2 separate regions of the Homo sapiens genome follow, and region 1 is linked to region 2. The links are contacts of gene promoters, found by promoter capture Hi-C in blood cells and fetal thymus (Javierre and others, 2016). All regions are on one chromosome and are shown on one strand. Each heading gives the region's core, a stretch centred on a gene start or on the middle of the fragment in contact. The rest is flanking DNA. Distances are from core to core; before and after follow the strand shown. Region 1 overlaps TFE3 (transcription factor binding to IGHM enhancer 3). Region 2 holds the start of KCND1 (potassium voltage-gated channel subfamily D member 1).

Region 1 (6,703 bases), core at 3,915-6,414, 57 kb after region 2:
TTACAGACGTGAGCCACCGCACCTGACCAGGAGTTCTTTCAGGTTGGCTTCTGTATCTTATGACATGCTGCAATCATTGCTTTTTTGTTTGTTTGTTTTTTTTTTTTTTTTTTTGAGATGGAGTTTTGCTCTTGTTGCCCAGGCTGGAGTGCAATGGCATGATCTCGGCTCACTGCAACCTCTGCCTCCCAGGTTCAAGCAATTCTCCTGCCTCAGCCTCCTGAGTAGCTGGGATTACAGGTGCCCCCCACCACACCCGGCTAATTTTTTGTATTTTTAGTAGAGACGGGGTTTCACCATGTTGGCCAGGCTGGTCTGAAACTCCTGACCCCAGGTGATCCATGCGTCTTGGCCTCCCAAAGTGCTGGGATTACAGGTGTGAGCCACCATGCCTAGCCTCCATCATTGGTTTTAGGCATTTCCTTACTTTCTGTCACTACAGGATGCTCCAGGCTCATCTTGTATTTCTCTCCACCCCAGACTGAAAATCAGCCATTTTTCCAGGAGCACTGGTTTCTTTTATTGGAGAATGGCATTTAGAAACCAAGGTCCAGGCCAGGCGCGGTGGCTCAGACCTGTAATCCCAGCACTTTGCGAGGCCAAGATGGGCAGATCACCTGAGGTCAGGAGTTCAAGACCAGCCTGGCCAACACGGCGAAACCCTGTCTCTACTAAAAATACAAAAAGTAGTCAGGCGTGGTGGGCAGCGCCTGTAGTCCCAGCTACTCAGGAGGCTGAGGCAGGAGAATCGCTTGAACCCAGGAGGCGGAGGTTGCAGTGAGCCAAGATTGCGCCATTGCACTCCAGCCTGGGTGACAAGGGTGAAACTCTGTCTCAACAACAACAACAAAAAAGAAACCAAGATCTGGCCACTAGATGTGCTCATTGTTTCTGGGATAGCATGATTTGTAGGACTTCTCAGTAGACAGACTGAGAAACCGTCTGCAAAAACCAAGAAGATAGGACCACTTAGTACAACATAGTATCTATGGTAGGTGCCTTCTGAGATGCCCTCAACCAGTGCTCCCTGCCTGCTATATTCTTGGTCTTGTGTAATCCCCTCCCCTTTAGTAACTTCTTTGCAAGTAACAGAATGCCTCAACCTTGAGGGGATATCACTTCCATAATTAGATCACAAGAGATGTGACCTCTGTTTTGCTAGCCAACTCTTTCTCTCGCTGGCTTGGATGAAGCAAACTACCATGCTGTGAGCCACTGCATGGAAAGGCACACATGGTGTGGATGGTGGGCACCTCTGGCTAACAGCCAGCAAGGAACTGGGGCCCTCTGTCCAACAGGCTGCAGAGAACCGGATCCTGCCAACAAATATGGGAGCACAGAGCAGATCCTTCCCCGGTCGCACGTTCAGAGAAGTCCTCAATCCTGCCCAACTCCTTCCTCGATTGTGCCTTAGTGAGAGAGGCTGAAGCTGAGGACCCAGCTGAACCCAGCCTGGATTCCTGACTTGCAAAACCTGAGAGATAATTTATGTGTATTGTTTGGAGCCACTAAGATTGTGGTCATTTGTTTCACAGGAATAAGTAGTACGGCATACTTACTTGGATCCTAGCACAGAAAAGACGTTAGTGGAAAAGCCAGTGAAATCCAAATAAAGTCTGAAGTTGAGTTAATAGTACTCTACCAATCTTATTTTTTTTTTTATTTTTTATTTTTTTTGAGATGGAGTCTCGCTCTATCGCCCAGGCTGGAGTGCAGTGGCGCAATCTCGGCTCACTGCCAGCCTCCTGGGTTCATGCCATTCTCCTGCCTTAGCCTCCCGAGTAGCTGGGACTACAGGTGCTCGCCACCACACCCAGCTAATTTTTTATATTTTTAGTAGAGACGGGGTTTCACCGTGTTAGCCAGGACGGTTTCGATCTCCTGACCTTGTGATCCGCCTGCCTCAGCCTGCCAAAGTGCTGGGATTACAGGCGTGAGCCGCCACGCCCGGCCCAATGTTATTTTCTTAGCACTGATAAATGTGCCATGGTTACGTAGAATGTTAACATTAGGGGGAGGTGGGTGACAGGTATGAAAGCTCACTAATGGTGATGCAACTCTTCTGTAAATCTAAAATTATTTCAGAAAAACTGTTAAAAAACCTCTGGGAGGCCAGGTACGGTGGCTCACGCCTGTAATCCCAGCACTTTGGGAGGCTGAGGCGGGTGGATCACGAGGTCAGGAGATCAAGACCATCCTGGCTAACGTGGTGAAACCCCATCTCTACTAAAAATACAAAAAAATTAGCCGGGCGTGGTGGTGTGCGCCTGTAGTCCCAGCTACTTGGGAGGCTAGGGCAGGAGAATGGCTTGAACCCAGGAGCCGGAGGTTGCAATGAGCCAAGATCCCACCATTGCACTCCAGCCTGGGCGACAGAGTGAGACTTCGCCTCAAACAAAAACAAAAACAAAAACAAAAAAACACACCTCTGGGAGGCCAGGTGCAGTGGCTCACACCTGTAATCCCAGCACTTTGGGAGGCCGAGGCAGTTGGATCATTTGAGATCAGGAGTTCAAAACCAGCCTGGCCAACATGGTGAAAACCCATCTCTACTAAAAATACAAAAATTAGCCGGGCAGTAGTGGCATGTGTCTGTAATCCCAGCTACTCGGGAGGCTGAGGCAGGAGAATCGCTTGAACCTGGGAGTTGGAAGTTGTGGTGAGCCAAGATCATGCCACTGCACTCCAGTCTGGGTGACAGTGAGACCCTGTACCCCCTTCCCCCCCCAAAAAAAAACCTCTGGGCATTACATGTTACGTTTAAAAAATAAAGAAGAGGCCAGGCACGGTGGCTCATGCCTGTAATCCCAACAATTTGGGAGGCCGAGGCGGGCGAATCATCTGAGGTCACGAATGCGAGACCAGCCTGACCAACATGGTGAAACCTTGGTCTCTGCTAAAAGTACAAAAGATTGGGCCAGGGGCCGTGGCTCATGTCTGTAATCCCAGCAATTTGGGAGGCCAAGGCAGGCGGATCATTTGAAGTCAGGAGTTCAAGACCAGCCTGGCCAACATGGTGAAACCCCATCTCTACTAAAAATACAAAAATTAGCTGAGCAGTAGTGGCACATGTCTGTAATCCCAGCTACTCGCAAGGCTGAGGCAGGAGAATCACTTGAACCTGGGAGGCAGAGGTTGCAGTGAGCCGAGATCGCACCATTGCACTCCAGCCTGGACGACAGAGCGAGACTCTGTCTTTAAAAAAAAAAAAAAAAGGCCGGGCACAGTAGCTCACCCCTGTAATTCCAGCACTCTGGGAGGCCGAAGTGGGCGATCACGAGGTCAGGAGTTTGAGACCAGCCTGACCAACATGGTGAAATCCTGTCTCTAATAAAAATACAAAAATTAGCCAGGCGCGGTGACAGGTGCCTGTAATCCCAGCTACTCGGGAGGCTGAGGCAGGAGAATTGCTTGAGCCTGGGAGGTGGAGGTTGCAGTGAGCCGAGACCGTGCCACTGCACTCCAGCTTGGGCAAAAGAGCGAGACTCCATATAAAAAAAAAGAAAAGTACCTAAAATTTGCCAGGTGTGGTGGCACATGCCTGTAATCCCAGGTACTCAGGAGGCTGAGGCAGGAGAATCGCTTGAACCCGGGAGGCGGAGGTTGCAGTGAGCTGAGATCGCGCCATTGCACCCCAGCCTGGGTGACAGAGGGAAACCCTGTTTCAAAATAAATAAATAAATAAATAAAATAAAATAAAATAAAATAAAATAAGAGAGTATAGGGCCAGGTATGGTGGTTTATGCCTGTAATCCCACTTTGGGAGGCCACGGCAGGTATATCACTTGAGGCCAGGAGTTTGAGACTAGCCTGGGCAACATGGTGAGACCCTGTCTCTACTAAAAATACAAAAATTAGCTGGGCGTGGTTGCGCGTCTGTAATCCCAGGTACTTGGGAGGCTGAGGCACGTGAATCGCTTGAACCTGGGAGGCAGAGGTTGCAGTTAGCAGAGATCATGCCACTGCACTCCAGTCTGGGCAATAGAGTGAGACTCCGTTTCAAAAAAAAAAAAAAAAAAAAAAGAGAGAGAGTACAGCAAAGTTGAGGAGAAAAAATAAAGGTTATTAGGGAGCCATCAGTCTGGTTACAGAGATTCAGCAACCAGGCTTGGAGGGGTAGCAGTGTGATAGGTTAGAAAGAGCTAGCAAGGGTCGGGTGTGGTGGCTTACACCTCTAATCCCAGCACTTTGGGAGGCCGAGGCAGGCAGATCACTTGAGGTCAGGAGTTCGAAACCAGCCTGGCCATCATGGTGAAACCCCGTCTCTACTAAAAACACAAAAAATTAGCTGGGTGTGGTGGCAGATGCCTGTAATCGCAACTAGAGAGGTTGAGACAAGATAATTACCTGAACCTGGGAGGCAGAGGTTGCAGTGAGCCGAGATCATGCCACTGCACTCCAGCCTGGGTGACAGGGCGAGATTGTCTCAAAAAAAAAAAAAAGAGATAACAAGTATGGTGGTCACAGTCTAGGGTAGTCACGGTGACCAAGCCCAGTTCCAGCCCTCAGAGGTCACAGTCTGGTGGGGGAAATGGAGGGACCAGGCCTGATGCTTGTTCTAGGAGTCAGTGTCTGGTTGAGAAATTGCGGGAAAATACTTTTTCCCAGCCTTCAAGAAGATACTTGTGTTCATTTAAATTCTCCCAAAATCTCAACATCTGTTCCAAAATTCAGTTGGTTGCTTGTTCCTCTGCCTTTCAGATATTTGTCTTTGTCCTTTCCACCATCTTAAATACCTCTGTTGTCTGCCAGGAAATATCCTCATAGACTTCTTTATCAGTTTCAAAAGTGGATTTGCAAGAAAAGCTTCTTTCCCCCTCTGCCCTCAGTGGCATTTTTCAATCGAGCCCTCACTCACCTGACTTTACTGTTTTACCGCCTCACCCATTTACAGGCTTGCATATCTTCAGAACAGTTCAATTCTATTCCTCAGCTTCTTCAAAGACCAAATGGAAGTAAGAAGCAGCATGTTCTGACTAACATCCCTTTAGAGAAATAAATTAGATGAAACACTTGCAGCAGTTAAAATTGTGCCTGGTGATTGGTCTTTAAAAATACTGTCTTTTGTTTGCATATTGTCTTCCTCCATGCCCTCTTCCTTTCTAAATTCTTTTATCCATCCTTCTGGAATCTGTTTCTCCCAAGGACTTTTATCCCTCTTGGCCTGCATGGGCTATGTTCACTGCACAGTGTAAAACAAGGACAGGAGACTCTTTGCCAAAGTTAAAAGCGCATCAAACACGCCTAGCTTTTATTATTTTAATCACAAACCTATAGACCCCTCAGTATACCCTCCATGGGGCCTGGCCCCAGCAATCCAAAGCTGACAACCTTGGGTGTAGGTATGAGGGGTGGGAATGGAGGGGGGAGTGTCTCTTGATAACTCTGAAATGGGGTGATTCCTCCAAATGAAGAACTGGGTGGGGAACAGAGGTTGGGGTGGCCTAGATTCTCAGTATGCGGAGCAATAAAAAAATCAGATAAACAAATGAGGGGGTACAATATGCTTTTACAACCCTCCTCCAAGCTTCTGCCTTGCTGGGGGAAGGCTTCCAGTTTTTCCTGGGCTGGGGAGGTCCCAGGATAGCCCCTTCCTTCATCCTCTTGCCCTACATGTTGAAAAAGAATACTGAGGTACTGGTTCTGGTAACCTGAACTCAGTCCCCCACTAATACCCATCACCTTCCCAAACTGCCCCTCAAGGAAGAAGGCAGGACTCTGCCCAAGGGTGGGGGCCTCTCACTCCAGATATAGGTCTGGAAAATTCATCCATGAAATTTCATAATCTGTCCCCTTCCCCAAGAGCAAGGTTGGCTCAGAGCCCTCCTAGGTTAGGTCAGGTTGGTCCCAGGTTAAGGCAGGGGAGCTTAAGTACCACTCCTCCCTGCAGTGTGGAATGCTTAGATGGGATGTTGCTGAGGGACAAGGGTGGGGCTGTGATCTCCACAAGCACTAGCGGTGGCCTGGTCCTACTGATTCTTTCACACCTGAAATACCTGTGCTGGGCTGTTCCTATAGGGAAGGGGTGGGGCCTGGCTCCTCCATTCCTAGAAGGCCAGGAGAGTTCCCAGGGGAAGGGGCTGGGTCTCATCCTCACTTCTGTTCCTTGCCTGGGCAGAGCAGGGCAGGGTTCATGGGGAAGGGGCAGAGCTTAAACCCCCAGGGCTGGGACCTCCATTACTTGACTCCTCTTCTGTGCCAGGACGGACTAGACTGGTGGTTCCAAGACAAAGGATGGAGCAACATCCTGACATCTCCCTTTCCCAGGAGACCTGGCTAGGACAGTCCCTAGGGGACAGGGTCGAGACCTCATCCTGTCTCCTTCCCTCACCTGGGCAAGGATGAGTCCCACAGGGGCAGGGGTGAGGCTGTGATCCCCAGGGGGCAGGCCCTGATCTCATGTCCTTCTCCAGCCTTCTCCTTCTGAAATACCTGCACTGGGCGGTTCCTTTGGGGAAGGTGCAGGGCCTCATCTGACTCCTCCTCCTTGCCTGATTACAGGGGTGGGGCCTGATCACATCTCCTCTTCCCCCAGGATACCTGGGCAGGGCAGTCTCATGGGAGGGTGGGGGAAAAGGCGGGGCCTCATCCTGACTGGTCCTCCTTTCCTGGGTGGGAAAGTCCCAGGGGAGGGGTGAGGCCTGATCAGGACTCCTCTTCCATGCTGAAGCTGCTGCGGCGGCTGCTGGCCTTGGAGACAGCA
Region 2 (7,689 bases), core at 3,788-6,287:
CCACTCTTTGCCAATCGGATCCTTGCCAAGCGCACCTTCTGCAGAGAGAGGAGATAAAAGGTCAGGTGGGTAAGCCCCAAAGTAGACTGGCTTGGGGTGTGGGGAGTAGGAGGTGCTCGGATGGAAAGTGCGGTTACCTGCTGTGCTCGGCGCTTGTCAGCCCGCTGGTTCTGGTGGTAGATGCGGCTAAAGTTGGACACAATGACTGGCACAGGCAGGGCAATGACCAAGACGCCACTGAGTGAGCAGATGGACCCGAAAATCTTGCCAGCAATGGTGCTGGGCACCATGTCTCCGTAGCTGGAGCGAGGGGAGGTAGGCCAAGGTCAGGAAAAGTGCCCACCTACCTTTCAGTCCCCCACTCCATCCCATCTAATCCGGACTAGCTCTGTGACCCTGGCCAGGCACTCAAACCTTCTGAGTCCCTCAGTTTCTTGCTCTGTAAAATGCTGGGTGGCCAAGTGAGAAATGGGCCTGGCCCTCAACCCCTACCATCTGCTGCCCCTGTCCAAGCTACATACCAAGCACCTGAGTCAGCTAGAAATCTATGAAAACCAAGCAGAGGGGAGCATGAGGAAGTCACAGGCAGTGAACACAGCCTCCTGGGGAGAGAGTCCCAGCACCACAGGCCAGCCGAAGGGCTTCAAGTCCCGGGAGGAGTGTTTTGTTGGTTTTGGCTGCCTCTGTCTTACCTGCTCTAGGTAGGACCCCTTTTCATTCCCCTATAGGGGAATCCTTGAAAACTGTCCACATATGACAAAACAGGGAGGAGCCTTGAAACCCTCCTGCCTTTCTCCATGCCACCCACCTCCCACAGAGACAGAGCAGAGCCAACCTTACTAACTTGTTCACAGAGAGCTCCCCTGAAGATCAGGGAGATTCTGTAACTGACTCGCCCAAGATCACACTGCATACTCTTGTTCTGACCGCAGAACCAATCAGAACTCCTCCAGAGAAACACAGCCTCTGCAGTCTTCAGCCTCTAAGCCTTTTCTCAGGCTGTGCCCTAGGATGGCTGTTCCTTATTTCGGTATTTTCACTCATTTTAAGCATTCAGGACTCTGCTCAAAAGTCTTTCCAACTTGGCCATTGCTGGCTCTGTGATGTGTCATCTCAGAGCGTGTCCTCAACTGTGAGACATGGGCAGCCATCCACCATCACAGAGTTGTTGTGAGGACTTGAATAGAGTAAAAGCCATCAAAATACTCAGTTCCAGCCCACTGTCAGCGCTCAGTATTTGTTTGTCAGTCTGATCCTGGACCTCCAACCAGAATTGGGGTTTCTACGCTTTAGAAACCCCAAATCAACTTTTTTTTGTACCTCTATGAAGAAACTGAGCAAACCCAATTCATTCAGTCATTCCTTCAACAGATACTGAGCACCAACTGTATACCCAATCCCAGTGATGGAAACTTAGAGAAGGATCACAGCATCTGCCCTAGACAGTATCTTTGGAAAGCTCATGAGTTCGATGATTCCATTTGATACTTTTATCCCAACTCTGTTTCTTCTGCAGGGATCGACAAAAAAATAATAATAATAAAAATGCTGAAAACATCTTGTTCTGGGAAACATCAAGGAATCACAAAGGCTCAGAAGTAGTGCCCCACACAGCAGACAATTCTAGAAGGTTGGGAGACATGGGTCCCCAAAACAGAAAAAGGTGCTAGAAAGCCAACACCTATGTATCCTGCACCAGAAACATTCAGAGAACTTTCACAACTATGATGTCATTGAATCCTCTCTAGATGATGAAGGGATCAGCATTTCCCATTTTACAGAGGGGAAAACTGAGGCCATGAGAAAACGACATCAACAGAAAGAGAGCAGCTAAGACAATCCTTGAACCCAAGTCTCCTGACCTAGAAAATCAAGGCATTGTCAGAGCTGGGAGGGATCTGAAGAATTAAGTCCAGCTCCCTCAGTTTGTACAGATGAGCAAACTGAAGCTCAAAAAGAGAAAGAGGCCAGGCGCGGTGGCTCACACCTGTAATCCCGGCACTTTGGGCGGCCAAGGCGGGCGGATCACCTGAGGTCAGGAGTTTGAGACCAGCCTGGCCAACGCGGTGAAACCCCGTCTCTACTAAAAATACAAAAATTAGCTGGGCATGGTGGCGTGTACCTGTAATCCCAGCTACTTGGGAGTCTGAGGCTGGAGAATCACTTGAACCCAGGAAGCAGAGGTTGTAGTGAGCTGAGATCTTGCCACTGTACTCCAGCCTGGGCGACAGAGTAAGACTCCATTTAAAAAGAAAGAAAGAAAGAGATCATTCCTTTAAACTTCCTAATTTTACAGAAAGGGTGAGTGTAATCGGGCAGCCCCCAACGCAGAGTCCACACTCACCCAAGCGTGGTCATGGTGACAATGGTATACCAGAAGGCCGCAGGGATGCTTGTAAAGTTGGTCTTGTTTGTGCCCTTCTCAGCATAAAACATGACAGTGGCAAAGATGATGATGGCCATGGTTAGGGAAAAGAGGAGAAAGCCCAGCTCAGAGGCACAGCTCTTGAGTGTGTAGCCCAGAATCCTCAAGCCCTGTGAGTGCCTGGAGAACTTGAAGATGCGAAACACCCGGAACACACGCAGGGTGACAAAGGCGCCAGAGACATCGTCGTTCTTGGGCACCAAAAGCCCAATGTAGTAGGGCAGGATGGCCACCACGTCGATGAGGCTCATGACACTCCGCAGGAAGCGGCAACGGCTGGGGGCGGCAAACAGCCGCAGGAGGTATTCACCTGTGAATATGAGTACACAGGCTGTGTCCATGCAGAAAAAGGCCTGTGGGAAGCGTTCGCCACAGGGCTGCTCCCTTGAGGACCTGCGTGCAGAGCCGCGGCATGGGATGGTCTCCACCACATTGGCGATGACCGACACGGCGATGAAGAAGCCGGTCACATAGTAGAAAACGAGGGCTGCGGTGCTCGTGTGTGGATTCTCGAAGGCCCGCCAGAGCCGCTGCCGCAGGGAGCTGCCTGCTGGCAGGGCTGGGCCGTCCCCGGCCTGCTCTGCCTCCTCATCCTCTGCCAGGCGCTCGGCATTCTCCTTCTTTCGGTCCCGATACTCTTCAAGGCAGCAGTCACCGACTAGCTCGGGAACCAGGCCGTAGAAAGCCAGCTCTTCGTCGAAGGCCTGGATGCACTCCTGCCGTGGGCAATGCAGCCGCCCCGTTCGGTAGAAGTTCAGCACATGGCGGAACATGTCAGGGTCGCGATCGAAGAAGTACTCGCCTGAGTCAGCATCGTAGAAGAATTCCTTCTCCGAGCTGCCCAGCAAGGTGTCTGGGTAGCGGTCCAGCGTATTCTTCCAAGTCTCAAAGCGCCGTCCGCTCACGTTCACCACCAGAACCTCATCTCCTCGAGATGCCTTCACCCCCGGTGCCGGGGGCAGGGGTTGCTGGGCCAGGGGCAGCCAGCCCACTGCTGCTGCCCGAGCAAAAGGCAGCCACGTGGCCAGGCCTGCCGCCATCGTGCCACTCCCCAAGCCCAGGGAGACTTAGTGAGGGTGGCGTTTAGGAGAATGTGGCTGTCTCCAGGATGGTGGGGGCTTGGAGACACCTTGAGCCACCCAAACAAGGAAACTGGGGGTGTCTAGAGAGGCCAAGAGGAACCAGGAGGAAGAACTAAAGAGATGGGAAGGAGTCTGGGGGACATTTACAGAACCTAGGAGGGGCCTGGGCAATGTTCTGAGGGACTGAGAAGGGCCTTGGGGACATGGAGAAGAGCAGAAAAGGGGTGTGGGGATGGGGCCAAGAAGGAGCTGAGGGAGGGTTTAGAGAGACTGAGATGATTCTAAAGGAGTCAGCCTGTGCCTGAGAGGTGTCTGGGGGCGTCTAGAGGGGCCAAGAAACACGTGGGGAATTCTCTGCACTCTCAAGAGTCTCAGGGAAGGCAGAAGAGCCTGGAATTCCTTTGCAGTGGTGGAGAGGAGACTGGGGCATCCAGAGGGGTAGAAATGGGACCAGAGGTGCTTGAAAGAGACTGAGAGTGCCTGGAAGTGGGGGTTCTAGAGGGGCTGAGACAGGTGAGGAGGGTTGTCCACACCCTCAAGACTTCTAGGGGAAGCATAAGAGGGTTAGACCCCCCTCATGGATCTGGAAAGGGAGCTGGTGCATCTTGAGGGGTGGCTGTGGATCCAGGAGGTTGTAAAGAGGCTGAAAGGTGTCTTGGGACTGCCTAGAGTTGCCAAGAATAGCCCGGGGGGGTGTCTATACTCTACAGGAGTTCTGGGGAAGAAAGGAGAGGCCAGAGCCTCCTAGTAGGGCTGGAGAGGGGAAGGGGTTATCTAAAGGGGTAGACAGGGGGCTGGGTTATTTTTTGAGAGGCTGAGAGTTATCTGGGGGAGGTGGGTATCTAGACGGGCCAACAAAGCCTGGTCGACACTCTCAGGAGTTCTACAGGGAGGAAAAAGGGGCCTGGGGAATTCCAAGGGCCGGGACTCAAATGTTAGGAAGTTGGGCACAATCCCAGAGCACCCAGGGGATCTATGAAGACTAAATAAGAGGAAGGGGGTTAACCCCAAAATGGGATTAAGAGGGGGGTGGGGTGTTGAAAGGGAGTTGGGTGTGTCTCCAGGGAGGGGGGCTCCTGGGCTTTGCAGGAAGCTGGCAGGAGACGCCGGGAGAAGGCTGGGTCCCACCGTTGGGGGCAGGTCTGGGGAAACCACACCCCGAGGGGCTGGCGGTGTGTACTGGGCAGTGGCAGTAGCAGCAGCGGCAGCAGGAGGAAGAGAAGCAACCACAGCCAGGCATAGGAGAGAAGGTGGCATAGGCAGGGGGAGGGTGCGGGGTCCCTGGAAGGAGGCCTGGGAAGGGCAAGGTCCAGTGGGACCCCTGGGGACTATCCCAGGATGGGTTAGGGCGTGGGGGCTGGACCAGGGAAGGATGAGGACAGCGCTAGTGGTGGTCCCCCTCCCCCTCTCTCTCGGGGCGTCCTCACCTGTGTCCCCGCTGCAGGAGCAGCAACAGCGGTGGGGCTGGGGGTACCAAACACCCGAGCTCCTGGCCCCCTCTGCAGAGCTGCCTGAGTTCTCCTCCTCCTCTGGCTCTCTCTCCCCGCCCCTCTGAGCTTGCCGGGAGATGGAGAGGCAGGGAGGGGCCTCGTGGCTCCCTGAGCCCCCTCCCCTAGGACAGCCAGAGAGGGACCCTGGGGAGACTCCGCCTCCTACAAAGCTGGTTGGGCCTCAGTCGCGTCATCTGGAAAATGGGGGTGGCAGGGAACTTCGCCAATTCTCTCCACCTCCTTCCTGGACTCCCCTCTCTTCCTGCCCAGCTCCTACCCGCTCTGCCCCCAGGGGCCCCCACCCCCACTCGCCTGAATCAGCAGCACTTAGCAGATCCGATCGATGGGAAGGCGTCTGTTAATGGCCCCAGAGCGGAGTGCCACAGGGAATGATGCAGCGCTGTCCCCTCCCTGCCCCCCAGACTGTGGAAAGGCAGGAGAGCCAGGAGTCGGGGGTAATTGCTGGGGAGTGTTTCTCTAGATGGCCAAGCTTCCGAAGCCGCCCCCTTGAGGGGCGCAGCATGGGTTACAGCCCCAGCTCTAAGACTTCGGCTGTGGGATTGGAGCACGGGACTTCCTGTTTTTAGATATGAAATGAGGGTAAAGGGAATGTAGAGGGGGACAATCCAGGTCCCACCCCCCTACCATCTCAGGCAGGCCCCACTCCGAGGGGGTAGTCTCTCTTATCTGTCCATATCCAGTGGCCTCAAATCACACCTCCTCCGCTAGAGGGCTCTGCTTCTGGATGGCAGGAGCACTGATTATGGAATGCCTCTGGCTGGCTATGGGTGGGTTCAAACCCCAGCTTTGCCACTGACTTGCTGCATCCTTGAGCAAGTGACTTGCATTGTTTCCTCAGTTGTCAGATGGAGAGACTTATCCCAACTTGATAGCGTCATTTGGAGCATTACATGATGTGAAAGGTGATAGCACTGGACACAGCTCACACCAGGGATGCTTAATCTTAATTAAAGGAGTGTGATGACAGGGGCACTGTAATGCAGGGCCAGGCCTAGCCTTTCACCCAAGATTTACCCACCCGTGTAAACTTCCAATTGCCCATTTGGCACACTCCTGATTTGTCCATTTCTACATCCATTCCTCCACCTACCCATCCACCCATTCTCCCACCCACACAATCAATTCCTCTATCCATCCCTCCACCCACCCGTCCACTTAGTCGTTAATCTACCCACCCACTCATTCATCCATTTGTAAGTTCACCCCATTTGGCTGTTTGCCAATCTATCTGTATGTATCCATCCTCTGCCCATCTCTTCCCACCCGGAACACATGCAGGGTGACATCCTCTGCCCATCTCTGTCCATACATAGCTCCACTTGTCATTTCTTCTCCCACTCTTTACCCTTCCCATTCATTAGCTCATCTACCCATCCATCCATTCCCCCAACCATTGGTCCATTTACTCCTAACCTGTCCATAAACCCATCCATCCACCTGTCTACCTAAATCATCCACCCATTTGTCCATAGACCTATTATCCATCTGTCCATTTACATCTCTACTATCCATCCTCTATCCACCTACCAATCTATCTACCCATTTATTCATCTAACCACCTATCCATCCATCCATTTATTTCCCAATCTATCCATCATCAGTCCATGCAACCGTTCACTTATACATCCATCGGTCCATCCAACCACTTATCCATCCTCCCATCTGTCTACTCATCTATACCCACAATCCCATACATGTCTACCCATGTACATATCTGCAGGTATTTCAGCTCCACTCAGTTTGAGGGGCTGGTCAGCAGTAAATGGAGACAGGCTGGATGAGGGTGGGGAAAAGAGAGTAACGTTGCAGCCAGAGACCTCTCTCCCTATTCCAATGGTGTAAACCTCCCCGCCCCCAGCATATTCCTCCTGGTTGAAAAGAACGAGACGAGACAGTCAGTGGGTGGGCCCGTCTGGCCAGATGGTATTTTGGCTGCATAGCCTTTACACACACACACACACACGTGTTGCTAGAACGCTGAACATGGACCACACACCCACCCAGCATCCCCAATCCCAAATGCAGAGTAGCCAGGCTCCAGACATAAATTAAAAAATAAAATAAAATAAAATAAAAAGAGTTGGTCTCTGGGAAGGAGAGCTCATGCAGAGATGAAGACAGAAGCCCTTGGGAGCCAGGACCAAGAAGAAGGAGAAATCCCTGCCCCTTCCCTCAGGATCCCCACTCCCTGGTGGCCTCTGCCCTAAGACAGGATCATTAACACTAACCATCAGGCCTCTAGCCCCTTTAATGTCCAGTCTCCCAAGCTATTTGATTTTGGCTCCAGCCCTCATTTTTCCACCACAGCCCAAGGGAATAGCATCCTAGGGGGTAGGAAGGGGAGGAGGTGGGTGCAGCCTGCAGGTCTTTAGCTGGTTTCTCCTGGCTCTAGGTCTGGGTCAGGAGGCCCCACGCACTCCTTGCTGAGCCGCACAATTTCCTGGGACAGAACTTCCATATCCTAAGAAACAAATGAACCATCAGGGGCCAGAGAAGGGGACAGGCTGCTCCCTTGCCAAACGTAGGGTATCATCTGTGATTTCCCTCACACCCTTTCATTAATCAATGCTCAGCTGTGTCTGGCCTGGGATGAGAAGGTACTTGGAGAAGCTCACAGCACCCCCAACAGTGGGCAGGGCTCAGAAAAGTCATGAGGATGGGTGGGGAGCTA

What was found. The method cuts DNA at HindIII sites, captures the fragments that hold promoters and counts their contacts. A CHiCAGO score of 5 or more calls a contact.
Region 1: a contact is called between a fragment that was not itself captured here and the fragment with the promoter of KCND1 in region 2, in 1 of 17 cell types (total B cells). The highest score is 5.5, in total B cells.

The regions. Positions count from the first base shown.
Region 1 is chrX:49,023,513-49,030,215 of GRCh38, forward strand. It overlaps TFE3 (transcription factor binding to IGHM enhancer 3), which reads right to left. Exons shown (of 10, transcript NM_006521.6): 10 at 5,214-6,703. The coding sequence ends at 6,646. Among named protein-coding and RNA genes, the nearest start is that of TFE3, 16 kb to the right of the region's middle. The HindIII fragment of the contact is 721 bases long and covers 4,805-5,525 here.
Region 2 is chrX:48,966,807-48,974,495 of GRCh38, forward strand. KCND1 (potassium voltage-gated channel subfamily D member 1) reads right to left here and starts at 5,038. Exons shown (of 6, transcript NM_004979.6): 1 at 2,345-5,038; 2 at 138-300; 3 at 1-38. The coding sequence starts at 3,465. It overlaps GRIPAP1 (GRIP1 associated protein 1), which reads right to left. Exons shown (of 26, transcript NM_020137.5): 26 at 6,917-7,479. The coding sequence ends at 7,387. The HindIII fragment of the contact is 6,364 bases long and covers 1-5,485 here.